4 separate regions of the Homo sapiens genome follow, and all the other regions are linked to region 4. Evidence: promoter capture Hi-C in 16 types of primary human blood cells and fetal thymus (Javierre and others, 2016). All regions are on one chromosome and are shown on one strand. The core of a region is centred on a gene start or on the middle of the fragment in contact, and the rest is flanking DNA. Distances in the headings are between cores, read along the strand shown.

Evidence for each region. The method cuts DNA at HindIII sites, captures the fragments that hold promoters and counts their contacts. A CHiCAGO score of 5 or more calls a contact.
Region 1: a contact is called between a fragment that was not itself captured here and the fragment with the promoter of TTK in region 4, in 1 of 17 cell types (monocytes). The highest score is 6.0, in monocytes.
Region 2: a fragment that was not itself captured here is called in contact with the fragment with the promoter of TTK in region 4 in 1 of 17 cell types (monocytes); the score reaches 7.6 in monocytes.
Region 3: a contact is called between a fragment that was not itself captured here and the fragment with the promoter of TTK in region 4, in 7 of 17 cell types (monocytes, total B cells, total CD4 T cells and 4 more). The highest score is 9.4, in monocytes.

What each region holds. Positions count from the first base shown.
Region 1 is chr6:82,233,327-82,236,097 of GRCh38, forward strand. It overlaps IBTK (inhibitor of Bruton tyrosine kinase), which reads right to left. Exons shown (of 29, transcript NM_015525.4): 3 at 833-929. Among named protein-coding and RNA genes, the nearest start is that of IBTK, 13 kb to the right of the region's middle. The HindIII fragment of the contact is 6,415 bases long and covers 1-2,771 here.
Region 2 is chr6:82,195,791-82,198,490 of GRCh38, forward strand. It overlaps IBTK (inhibitor of Bruton tyrosine kinase), which reads right to left. Exons shown (of 29, transcript NM_015525.4): 22 at 508-656. Among named protein-coding and RNA genes, the nearest start is that of IBTK, 51 kb to the right of the region's middle. The HindIII fragment of the contact is 1,334 bases long and covers 739-2,072 here.
Region 3 is chr6:82,249,918-82,252,617 of GRCh38, forward strand. No RefSeq gene overlaps it. Among named protein-coding and RNA genes, the nearest start is that of IBTK, 3.5 kb to the left of the region's middle. The HindIII fragment of the contact is 4,001 bases long and covers 1-2,700 here.
Region 4 is chr6:80,003,269-80,005,968 of GRCh38, forward strand. It overlaps TTK (TTK protein kinase), which reads left to right and starts at 1,381. Exons shown (of 22, transcript NM_003318.5): 1 at 1,381-1,445; 2 at 2,574-2,700. The coding sequence starts at 2,576. RefSeq lists enhancers at 418-1,292, 863-982. The HindIII fragment of the contact is 2,460 bases long and covers 224-2,683 here.

The DNA.
Region 1 (2,771 bases), core at 68-2,567, 2.2 Mb after region 4:
AACAACAACCACAAAAATAATGATAATTTCCAGAGACCCTATCTCAAAAATAACAAAAGGAATAAAAATTTACATTCCTTTTTCCTTCTACCTCAATGCTGATGTTACTTTCTGAGTATATATCAATTACTTTACAGTAGTTACAATTATAACAGTCCTCCCATTTTAGATTGTACTTTTATATAGACATAAATATGGATTGAAATTTTAAAATGCAAAATAAAATTGTTCTGAATATGAAACAAAAAATATCCAACATATACCAAAGTAAAATTTCTTTGCAGATAGCCACACACAAATAAATTTCCCCACTACTTTAAGAAGAATAAAATTTCATTAAAATTTTCTAAGCTAAGCTGCACCTTAATGGAATACATTTGTAAAGTTTTTTTTTTTTTTTTTTTTGAGACGAAGTCTAGCTCTATCACCCAGGCTGGAGTGCAGTGGCAAGATCTCAACTCACTGCAACCTCCACCTCCCAGGTTCAAGCAATACTCCTGCCTCAGCCTCTAAGATTGCCTAGAGGAGCTAGGATTGCCTGTAACTAGGATTGCCTGCTACCATGCCCGGCTAACTTTTGTATTTTTAGTAGAGACGGGGTTGTACCATGTTGGTCAGGCTCGAACTCCTGACCTCAAGTGATCCGCCTGCCTCGGTCTACCAAACTGCTGGGATTACAGGTGTGAGCCGCAGCGCCCAGCCCATTTGTGAAATTTTCTTACCAGTATTCTCGAACTCCTGACCTGAAGTGATCCGCCTGCCTCAGCCTACCAAATTGCTGGGATTACAGGTGTGAGCCGCAGCGCCCAGCCCATTTGTGAAATTTTCTTACCAGTATTCTTGAATACTACATGAGTTGGTCTATCCTTCATTACAAGATCCAAAGCTGACAAGCCTTCTTTATCTTGAATATACAGACTAACACCATGCTAAAACAAACAAACAAACAAATACATAAATATATATATATTATTAATTACCTATATCATCAGTAACTTCCTATTTTATTATTATTTTTTTTTTTTTGAGACAGAATTTCGCTCTTGTTGCCCAGGCTGGAGTGATGCAATGGCGCAATCTTGGCTCACCGCAACCTCCACCTCCCAGGTTCAAGCAATTCTCTTGCCTCAGCCTCCCAAGTAGCTGGGATTACAGGCATCCACCACCACGCCCGGCTAATTTTCTATTTTTAGTAGAGACAGGGTTTCTCCATGTTGGTCAGGATGGTCTCGACCTCTGACCTCAGGTGATCCACCTGCTTTGGCCTCCCAAAGTGCTGGGATTACAGGCTGAGCCACCACACCTGGCCGACTTCCTATTCTTATGTATCAAAAAGTCAGATAATCAACCCCATAAATACACTGAAAAAAAATTTAATAATGATTATCTCTCATATTCACACACATTTTTCTCTCACATACTGCAGAGAATAATTAAGAAAAATCACATATCCGACTCTTGCTGGAATAAGGAAGAATCAGAAAATGTGAAGAAATAAAAAATTAACATTTTAAATAAAAATTAACTACATGTGAACTTTTTTTTGCAGGGGGGACGGAATCTCGCCTTTGTCGCCCAGGCTGGAGTGCAAAGGCACGATCTCAGTTCACAGTAACCTCCGCCTCCCAGGTTCAAACAATTCTCCTGACTCAGCCTCCCGAGTAGCTGGGATTACAGGTGCCCACCACCATACCCGGCTAATTTTTGTATTTTTAGTAGAGATGGGGTTTCACCATGTTGGCCAGGCTGGCCTCGGACTCCTGACCTCGTGATCAGCCCGCCTCAGCCTCCCAAAGTGCTGGGATTACAGGTGTGAGCCACCGTTCCCGGCCATGTGAACATTTTTAACAATAAAGCATTTCTGATACCCCTTTAATACCCCATAAATACACTGTCCCTACAAGTCCCTAGCTCTGGGTTTGTGTCTGTGTGGGAGTGCATCTGAACATAAACATTTAACTCTTCTTGCATTTGAGGAGCCACACTCTGCCGGGCGCAGTGGCTCATGACTATAATCCCAGCACTTTGGGAGGTGGGTGGATGAATCGCCTGAGGTCAGGAGTTCAACGTCAGCCTGGCCAACATGCTGAAACCCCATCTGTAGTAAAAATACAAAAATTAGTCAGGTGTGGTGGTGCATGCCTATAATCCCAGCTACCTGGGAGGCTGAGGCAGAAGAATCACTTGAACCCGGGACACAGAGGTTGCAGTGAACCGAGATCGCGCCACTGCACTCCAGCCTGGGCAACAAGAGTGAAACTCCGTCTCAAAAAAACAAAAAAAAATTATCTGGAGAAGGAGAGACATAAAATTTCAAATCAGTTTATTTAGTTTATACTTACTCTATTTTAGTTTGAGGAATTTTTTCTTATTTATAATTTGACAGTTAATTGTTGATGACCTGTTTATTCTGCGAGGTATCTGATATCCCTTCAATATATTTTGTTTATGTTACCATAGTTGGTTCCAGTTGCAGGCAAAAATAACTCTAATACATCAATATTTATCAAGCATGTTCCTATTTGTTCATTAATTTTTGTTGTTATTGTTTTTTTTGGTTTTTTTGAGACGGAGTCTTGCTCTGTCACCCAGGCTGGAGTGCAATGGCGTGACCTCGGCTCACTGCAACCTCCATCTCCTGGGTTCAAGCGATTCTCCTGCCGCAGCCTCCCCCGTAGCTGGGATTACAGGCATGTGCCACCACGCCCAGCTACTTTTTGTATTTTTAGTAGAGATGAGGTTTTGCCATGTTGCCCAGGCTGGTTTCGAAC
Region 2 (2,700 bases), core at 156-2,655, 2.2 Mb after region 4:
CCCTCCCCAGAGCTGATTAGGCTAGGAATCCTGCAGCTTAATGTGCTAGATTAGGAGAAGAACTCAAATCATTTCCAAATTGTTTTGCTCCAGTTAATACCCTGGAGGAAAGAGACTGCGAACTTTCAAAGTAGGCTTATTTTCGAAATCATTTGCCTTGACAATTTTTAACTGATGTTAACTGACATTTCACAAGATAAATTTCAATAATTTAGCTACAAATATATTTTTTCAACATGTCTATAGTGTTATTATATTTTACATCAACATTATATTTTAGTTGCACAAAGACTAGAAATAACATCATAAAGGGCTCAAAACTGCCATTACAATCTCTAAAAATAGAAATGTTGTGCAAATTTAAGAAAACTAACACTATATTTGTGATTCTTATATACCAACCTGGAAACTGTTTTAAAATTAGGGCAAAAATAAGGAAATATTAAAGATAAACCATCTATAAATCTAAAATCTGAAGGTAAGGAGGTAGTGCTTCAAAAAACAAACCTCAATCTTATCTGAATGAAATCCTGTTGTGAAATCAGGGGACTGTAAATCTCTAGGACTACCCACTCCTGCATAGCTTCCTTCAGAGTCTGATGTCAACAGTTCTGGAAGAGATTCCACAGAATTGGTCTTACCAGACTTTAATAATCCTAAAACATGAAATTAAAAAAAATTAAACACATATGCATTAAACATATATGCATTACATTCCATGAACCAGAGAGCTAAAAAAGCTTTCATTTATCCAGATTTAATAACATTCAAATTATATTTATGGTATAAAAATCTTAATAATTCAAGTTAACTGGAGAAAGAAATCAGTTTAAGTGAAAAACTGAAATGGAAGAGATTCTAAAACAATAATTTTATTCATTACAATCACACACCAATTGTGTAATGAACCTGAGGAAGATAGTTCTTTGGGATCTGCTCTAAAAAGTGATTTAAAATATTTTTGTCCGCATAAGAGACAAAGGAGAAAGGGAAAATAATTAAAATCCAGACCTCTTTTCCCTTTCTCATCTGTCTCTTGGTACAGTGGTCTCCGCACCCAAGCAAGGGGGTAGCTTCATTCTATGTGGGAGGAACCCTGTGGCCTTTTTGCCTCTCACTTAGCCAGCTGACTGACCCCATAGCAGAGGCTCCCGCAGAAGACAACTGTGGCCTGTTTGAAGTGTGTTTTTCCCTGAAATCTCTGGCTATTGAGAGCTCGCTTGAAGCAAGAGGGTTGTTGTGAAATGTATATATCATTTCTTCTCTTAGGCAAGCTAAATGCCTGGCCTCATGCCACACCTGGTATCCAGGTTCAAACTTTTGCTTAGATTCACATGTCCATTTCCACACATTTCAAATTTATTAGAATCTAAATGAAGTACCAAAATAAGCTATAAAATAAAGATGTTATCTAACTTGTAACTAAAAGCTGTATAATTGATTTAAAAATAAAACCTACCATCTCTTATACATTGTTCTCTTTAAAGTAAATCACCTTAACAAGCTAAATGTTTCTTTTATTGTTATCACTACAATTTGGAAAGAACATTTAAACATTTTTTTTGCCACACAATCTTTTTGAATTTTTTTTTTTTTTTGAGACAGAGTCTTACTCTATTGCCCAGGCTGGAGTGCGGTGGCATGATCTCAGCTCACTGCAACCTCCACCTCCAGGTTCAAGTGTTTCTCCTGCCTCAGCCTTCCAAGTAGCTAGGATTACAGGCATGCACCACCATGCCCGGCTAATTTTTTTTGTATTTTTACTAGAGACAGCGTTTCACCATATTGGCCAGGCTGGTCTGGAGCTCCTGATTTTGTGGTCCGCCCGCCTTGGCCTCCCAAAGTGCTGGGATTACAGGCAGGAGCCACTGCGTCTTGCCTCTTTTTGAATATTTTTAAGGCTGGCAAATTTTCATCGAAGAGAATACATCTAATATTAGAACACTCTCAAAAGTCAGTTAGAAATAAATCCAGAAAAAAAGAGGACAATTAATGTGGCCAACAATTACTTCTGGTCAAAAACAGTTTTGCTGAATGCCGTTTGTCTAACTTTAAGATCGACACAGATGTTAAGCTTTTACGCAACTGTCTTTGATGAAATTGGCCTCATACTCAAATTTTCTTCCTTAACAGGTCTTTTTGGCCTCCAATTAAATCTGACCTTTTAGTTATCTTTGACTACAGATATCCTGGCCACAGAAAGAACAGTACACCAGGAAAATACGGACCTGGAATCAAGAGAACAAATTTTATTTCTTTTGGTCACTACTTCAAATCACTTATGTTTTTTGAGCTTCTTTCCTTAGGTTTAAAGTAAGGGACATAAATTATTTCATTACTAATGTCTCTTCTAGCTCTGAAATTCTAAGATTCTAACACATATGGTAACAATAACATTATTTAAAACAAACCAAATATCTGCTTTTCCATAAGTCATTTAGGTGACTGGAAAGTCATTACTTTCAAGACTGTCTATCCATTATTCATCCTTCCATCAATCCACCCCTGCCTCCTTCTAAACACTAACGGTAATTCATACAACACAGAGAACACAGAGTCACAGAATTTTAAATTTAGAAAAGTCCTAAGATAATAGCTTTCCCATTTACTAGGTCTCCTGATTCCTATTTTCATTGCTTCATAAATAAATTTTAGGCATATTATCTATCCTTTTTTTATCTTTATGTTATCTAAAACTAT
Region 3 (2,700 bases), core at 54-2,553, 2.2 Mb after region 4:
AGTTAAAATTACCAGGTCTCGGACAATTTGTGGTAAGCATTGGGGATCCAACAGTGAACAAAAATACATGTAGACCCAGATATTCCCAAGCATAATAAATTGCAACGTTTATAAGTATTAATCTGATAGATTTATCTGACTTCCAAAAGATGTGACACATGAACTAAAGACTGAGCAGAAGATAACTCAGATAACTAGATAACGAGGAGATAAGTAGATGAAGCAGGAAAGAAATAACATTCCAGTCAAAGGAATGTAGAATTGCTCCCCTTTTCCCAGGAAAGTTAGATGCTTTCAAAAGTACTTACTGGTTATTTGCAAGACAAAATATTAAAATAATTAGGAAATAGTACAAATGAAATACAATTAAATGAAAAATATATTGTAGATGTGGTTAAGGGAGGAAGAAATCAAAATGAGCCATTTTGTTTGATTTTTAAAAAAATTTTGTGTTTACACATGAAAGAATAGGTCAAAATATATCTACAATGATTGTTTCTATGGTGGGATTATGGGTGATTCTTAATTTCTATCATTTTGACTTTTGTAATTTTCATTGCAATAATTTAAATATTACTTGAATGATTAAAAAAATCAAAGTTTGGAAAAATAATTGACTAGAGTTTCTAAAGTAGTTTTATTTTTTAAAGTAAAAAATAAAAAAACCAGAGATGACTTTAAAAGATTGCAGTGATGGGCCAGGCACAGTGGCTCATGCCTGTAATCCCAGGAGGCCGAGGCAGGCAGATCACGAGGTCAGCAGATCGAGACCATCCTGGCTAACACGGTGAAACCCCATCTCTACTAAAGAATACAAAAAAAATTAGCCGGGCGCAGTGGCGGGCACCTGTAGTCCCAGCTACTCGGGAGGCTGAGGCAGGAGAATGGCGTGAACCTGGGAGGTGGAGATTGCAGTGGGCCAAGATAGCGCCACTGCACTCCGGCCTGGGTGAAAGAGCGAGACTCTGTCTCAATAAATAAATAAATAAATAAAAAGATTGCAGTGATGGGCGGAGGGAGTAGAAAAAGAATAGTACAGGCATCAAGAGTGGAGCACTGCAGAAATATTTCTAAGCCACATGGCATCTATAATAAACTCCCTAAATACCATTTTTCCAAAATAAATTGGTAGTACTATCCTTTATAATTAAAAGTACTGACATCATTATGTGTATTTTGCTGTCTTTCAAGTTGTATAGGAGTAGGAAATGACAGTGCTGGTGGCAGAAGAGAAAACACTAGAATTTGATTAGAAACCCAAACCTGATTAGGTTCTACAAGAATGATTTTTAGAGGAAGATCAATAGTGCAGCTGGCCTAGAGATGACTGGAACCTTATTGTTTAGCCTCATTCTCTTCTACTCCACACCATCTTCTACAGGACATCACTGGTTGACTACAACTTTCTGGCACACAAATTAAGTACCTCACATAAATCACATATCTCACCTCAGGTTTGCCATTAGGGAAGATAGCACTGAGCCTATTATCTCAAGCACAAAAGTTCTAGGCACCTGACGGACTCATGTCGGCTTGGATTAGGTGAGGAATCAAGGATAACATGATTGACATCCTCTATTAGAGTCATGGTTAAAGCAGAGTGAAGAGTAGTTCCCCAAAAGAAAGCAGGGTGAGGCAGACAAAACAATAGGCCACATAGGGTGTTTGTGTTCTTCTGGATTCAGGTGTATGGTCCCAGCTGCGTTCTTCCTATAGAATCATTATCTTTCCAATCCTTACTTACAGAGGGTCACCTCCCCACATATCTGTGAAGACTTTCCGGATGGCCTTTCCTAGCAATTATTCCCTTTATACTGCTTCTATCACTTAGTCATATAATGTATCACACTGTTTTATTTTTAGATTTGTTAGTTTTACTCCTGGAGACAAGGATTCTAGAGGCAAGGTGCCCAGATATAAAGTTTTACTCCTATGCTTACTATCTGTGAGATGTCAGGCAAGTTACATAAACCCTCTAAGCCTAGTTTCCTCATCTCTGAAATAGGGTTAATAGTATTGCTTTCATAAAGTTCTTAAGAAGTTTAAATGAGATTTTATATATATATATAATATAATGTATATATTATATATATGAAGCTCTTAGTACAACTCTTAGCAACTTAATTGACATAACCTGAAATGAACTGCCTGGATGAATCTGTTTCCACCAAATTAAAGGGTGGGATGGGGAAACAAAGAATAACCCACAAGGTGGCAGTATTTGAATGTAACTTTAGAATCTTATGTTTAAAAGCATAGTCCACCAAAAAAATCTGAAATTCAAGGCAAATACTGGAGAAATTCAAGGTAAATTCAAAGCCTAGATGAAATAAGCAGAACTTTGAGATAAATCAAACTTATAAACTTAACAGGCTTAGTATTCTATTACAATCAGAACACTGAACTCCTAAAAGTCTTCCCTTTACGATGACTGAAAAATGTATCATTTGCCTTTCTCAGCCCATCTTACTGAGAATTGCTCCTATTCCTTTTCTACTTAGCTAAATAATTAAATCTGTGTTGTCACTATTAGAAAGAGAGAGAGAGAAGAAAGAAAAAGAGTGAGTTTGATACATAGTGGTTGGAGCCTTCTCTTCATGCCATAAATCCCTAGGACTGATAGAAAAGACATACTTAGGCCGGGTGTGGGGGCTCACACCTGTAATCCTAGCATTTTGGGAGGCCAAGGCAGGCAGATCA
Region 4 (2,700 bases), core at 131-2,630:
GAGTTCAAGATGCGTATGAGACATGTAAGTGAAGATGTTAATAAGTAGGCAGTGGATATCTGAGTATGGAGTTGAGGAGAGCTCAGCTAATGATACACATTTGGGAGCCATCAACATATAGATGGTATTTAAAAATAGAAGACTGAAGGAGACCACCAAACGAGAGTACAGAAAGAAGTGTTAGGGTGAGGTCATCCAGCAACAGTATTTTAAGGAAAATGCAAGCTTTGTGATCAGGCCGCAAACAGATCAACGAGAATTGGAGGAATAATAAACTCTTTCCAGGCAGAAGCATTAGATGCAATGGTGCAAAGGTAAGTGATTAGCCAACCATGGTATAGCAAGTCATTTTGCTCTGCTGAAGCAGAAATACTAGCTAGCTGACACAGAAAGATGCATTAAGTGATTGAGAAGGGCTCTCACGCTAGCTGGGTGGCTATCCAGAGCTGGGAATGTGAGGGTTCTAAGGATAGCTTTGGAGTTAACAAGTGACAGCTGCAGTTAGTTTCCTATACATACACAAAACCAACCCGTCCTACCACAGAATATATGTCATAATGCTGGCACAACAGACACATCCCTTTTAGTTTTGCAGACGAGGAGTAACCGTTGCCCTGGACCACAAAGCCACTTAGCGGCAGAGCCTCGCACCCGCGAAGATTATTACTAGGGAGATGTTTTTACCCCTGAGGACACCTGAGCCCTTAAGTGGGGCAGGCTTCGAGGGAGGGGGGCCGATAAGGCGACTTCAGACAGGGCAATCACGATGGGCGCTTGAGTTCTGCGCAGAATTTTGACAAGGGGGAGGGTCTTGGCTTGAAGACAGAGCGTGGAGTCATTTAAGGATAATGGAAGGGCATAAGCAGAAGCTCAAGGATAAAAAGCACTGAAATTCTTGAGCTGGCGGCAGGGCTGAACGTAGCTCAGTGAAAGATCCTTTCTTGCCACATCCTCTCTAAGCCAGGCTGTGAGAACCGCGGGAAACGAAGGAGAAGGGTGGCGGTGGGGTCAGTAAAGGGCCGGCCCAAGGTGCATCTTTTAGGTCCTGATGCTAGGAGCAGCCGTCCCTGCCCCTATATTCCTCTCACTGGGTAGGTTTGCTCGGGAGTGGCTACCTCCCAGGCAAAAATTCGGCCTGGTTAAACTGGAAAGACCAGGAAAGCCCGCCCACGGGCGTCCGGGGAACGCCTGCAAAGTGCCAGCACCCTACCAACCCAGGCGCCGCACGGGTGGGGTCGCGGCCGCAGGCTCTTCCGGGGCGGGCCTAGCCTGACGCAGGAGGAGGGGCGGCCCCCGTCGCACAAGAACCAATCACGACTGTCGCTTCTACGTGGCTAGCATTGACCAATAGGAGACCGTAGTGATAGCGACGGGGAAATTCAAACGTGTTTGCGGAAAGGAGTTTGGGTTCCATCTTTTCATTTCCCCAGCGCAGCTTTCTGTAGGTAAGTTCTGTCTTACCGGTGCACCGGCGCACTGAGGAACAGCCGCAGCCGGTGTAGGGGCTCATTGTTAGCGCTGGTCGGTGAGGGGTGGGGCGAGGTGGGGGCAGCTCGGAGCCAGGTATGCGACGCGGCTAAACGAGCTGGAGGGGGAGGGGATGTCTCACTGCCTCAGCGGGTCTGGCCGGTGGGGTGATGCAGGAGGTTTTGTTGAGGAAGTAAGAAGTGGGTGTGGCCCACGCTGGAAAGAAGGGGTGGTGGGGTACCTGCGCACAAGATCGTTTTCCAAAGGACAGTCTCTCTTGTTTTGGGGGTTAGAACTGGGAAAGAAGCGGGTGGCCGTGATCTGACAGTTATCTTTCAAACCTGACTTAAGAGGTGGAGTGATACCTTGCTGCAACTTTATGACTTTTTTTCATTGTTAAACCTGAAGACGGGGCAGCATTGTTATCAGTGACACTGAGTTGGTGTTTGAGAGTCACAAAGATACGATTAACAATAAGACTGCAGACACTTTATTGAACAAACACCACCACCATGCAGATAAGCAAGTGCTCAGTACCAGTACAATAGTTTCTTAGTGTTAGATTAAGGTAGCAAATCGTGATTCTGCTAGATATGCACAAGAATAAATCTGCGGATTTCCTAATTATCAGTAAAGCCCCATCATGTTTATATTCTGCTTTGAAAGCACTTGCACTGGAAGATTTACTCAAGTAAAGCAGGCGAATAAAGGAATTGTTATTCCCATTGCCAAACGAATTCTTTATGTCTATGTCACTACCAGAATCCAAGCAATCTTTATGTGTATGTCGCTACCAAAATCCAAGCAAACACTCTATCATATTTTTTTTAAGTGACACTAAATTTGCAGATTTCTACAGTGTGACGTCATTGATGTTATATTGGGGGAAAAAGTATACTTGGCCTATGAAACCTTGGTGAATAAATTACAAAGATGTGTACCTTGTTGTTGTGCACTTACCTCCATTAATACTAGCCTAATAATAGCTGCATTTAGATGTGTTCACAAAACGAATGCTTTAGTCGTCTGGGTTCTAAAAAGCTAGTGCATTTTTTTCTTTGATGCTAGTTAAAGTAGGAGTTATGACTGTTCAGTTTTTTTCTTAGAAATGGAATCCGAGGATTTAAGTGGCAGAGAATTGACAATTGATTCCATAATGAACAAAGTGAGAGACATTAAAAATAAGTTTAAAAATGAAGACCTTACTGATGAACTAAGCTTGAATAAAATTTC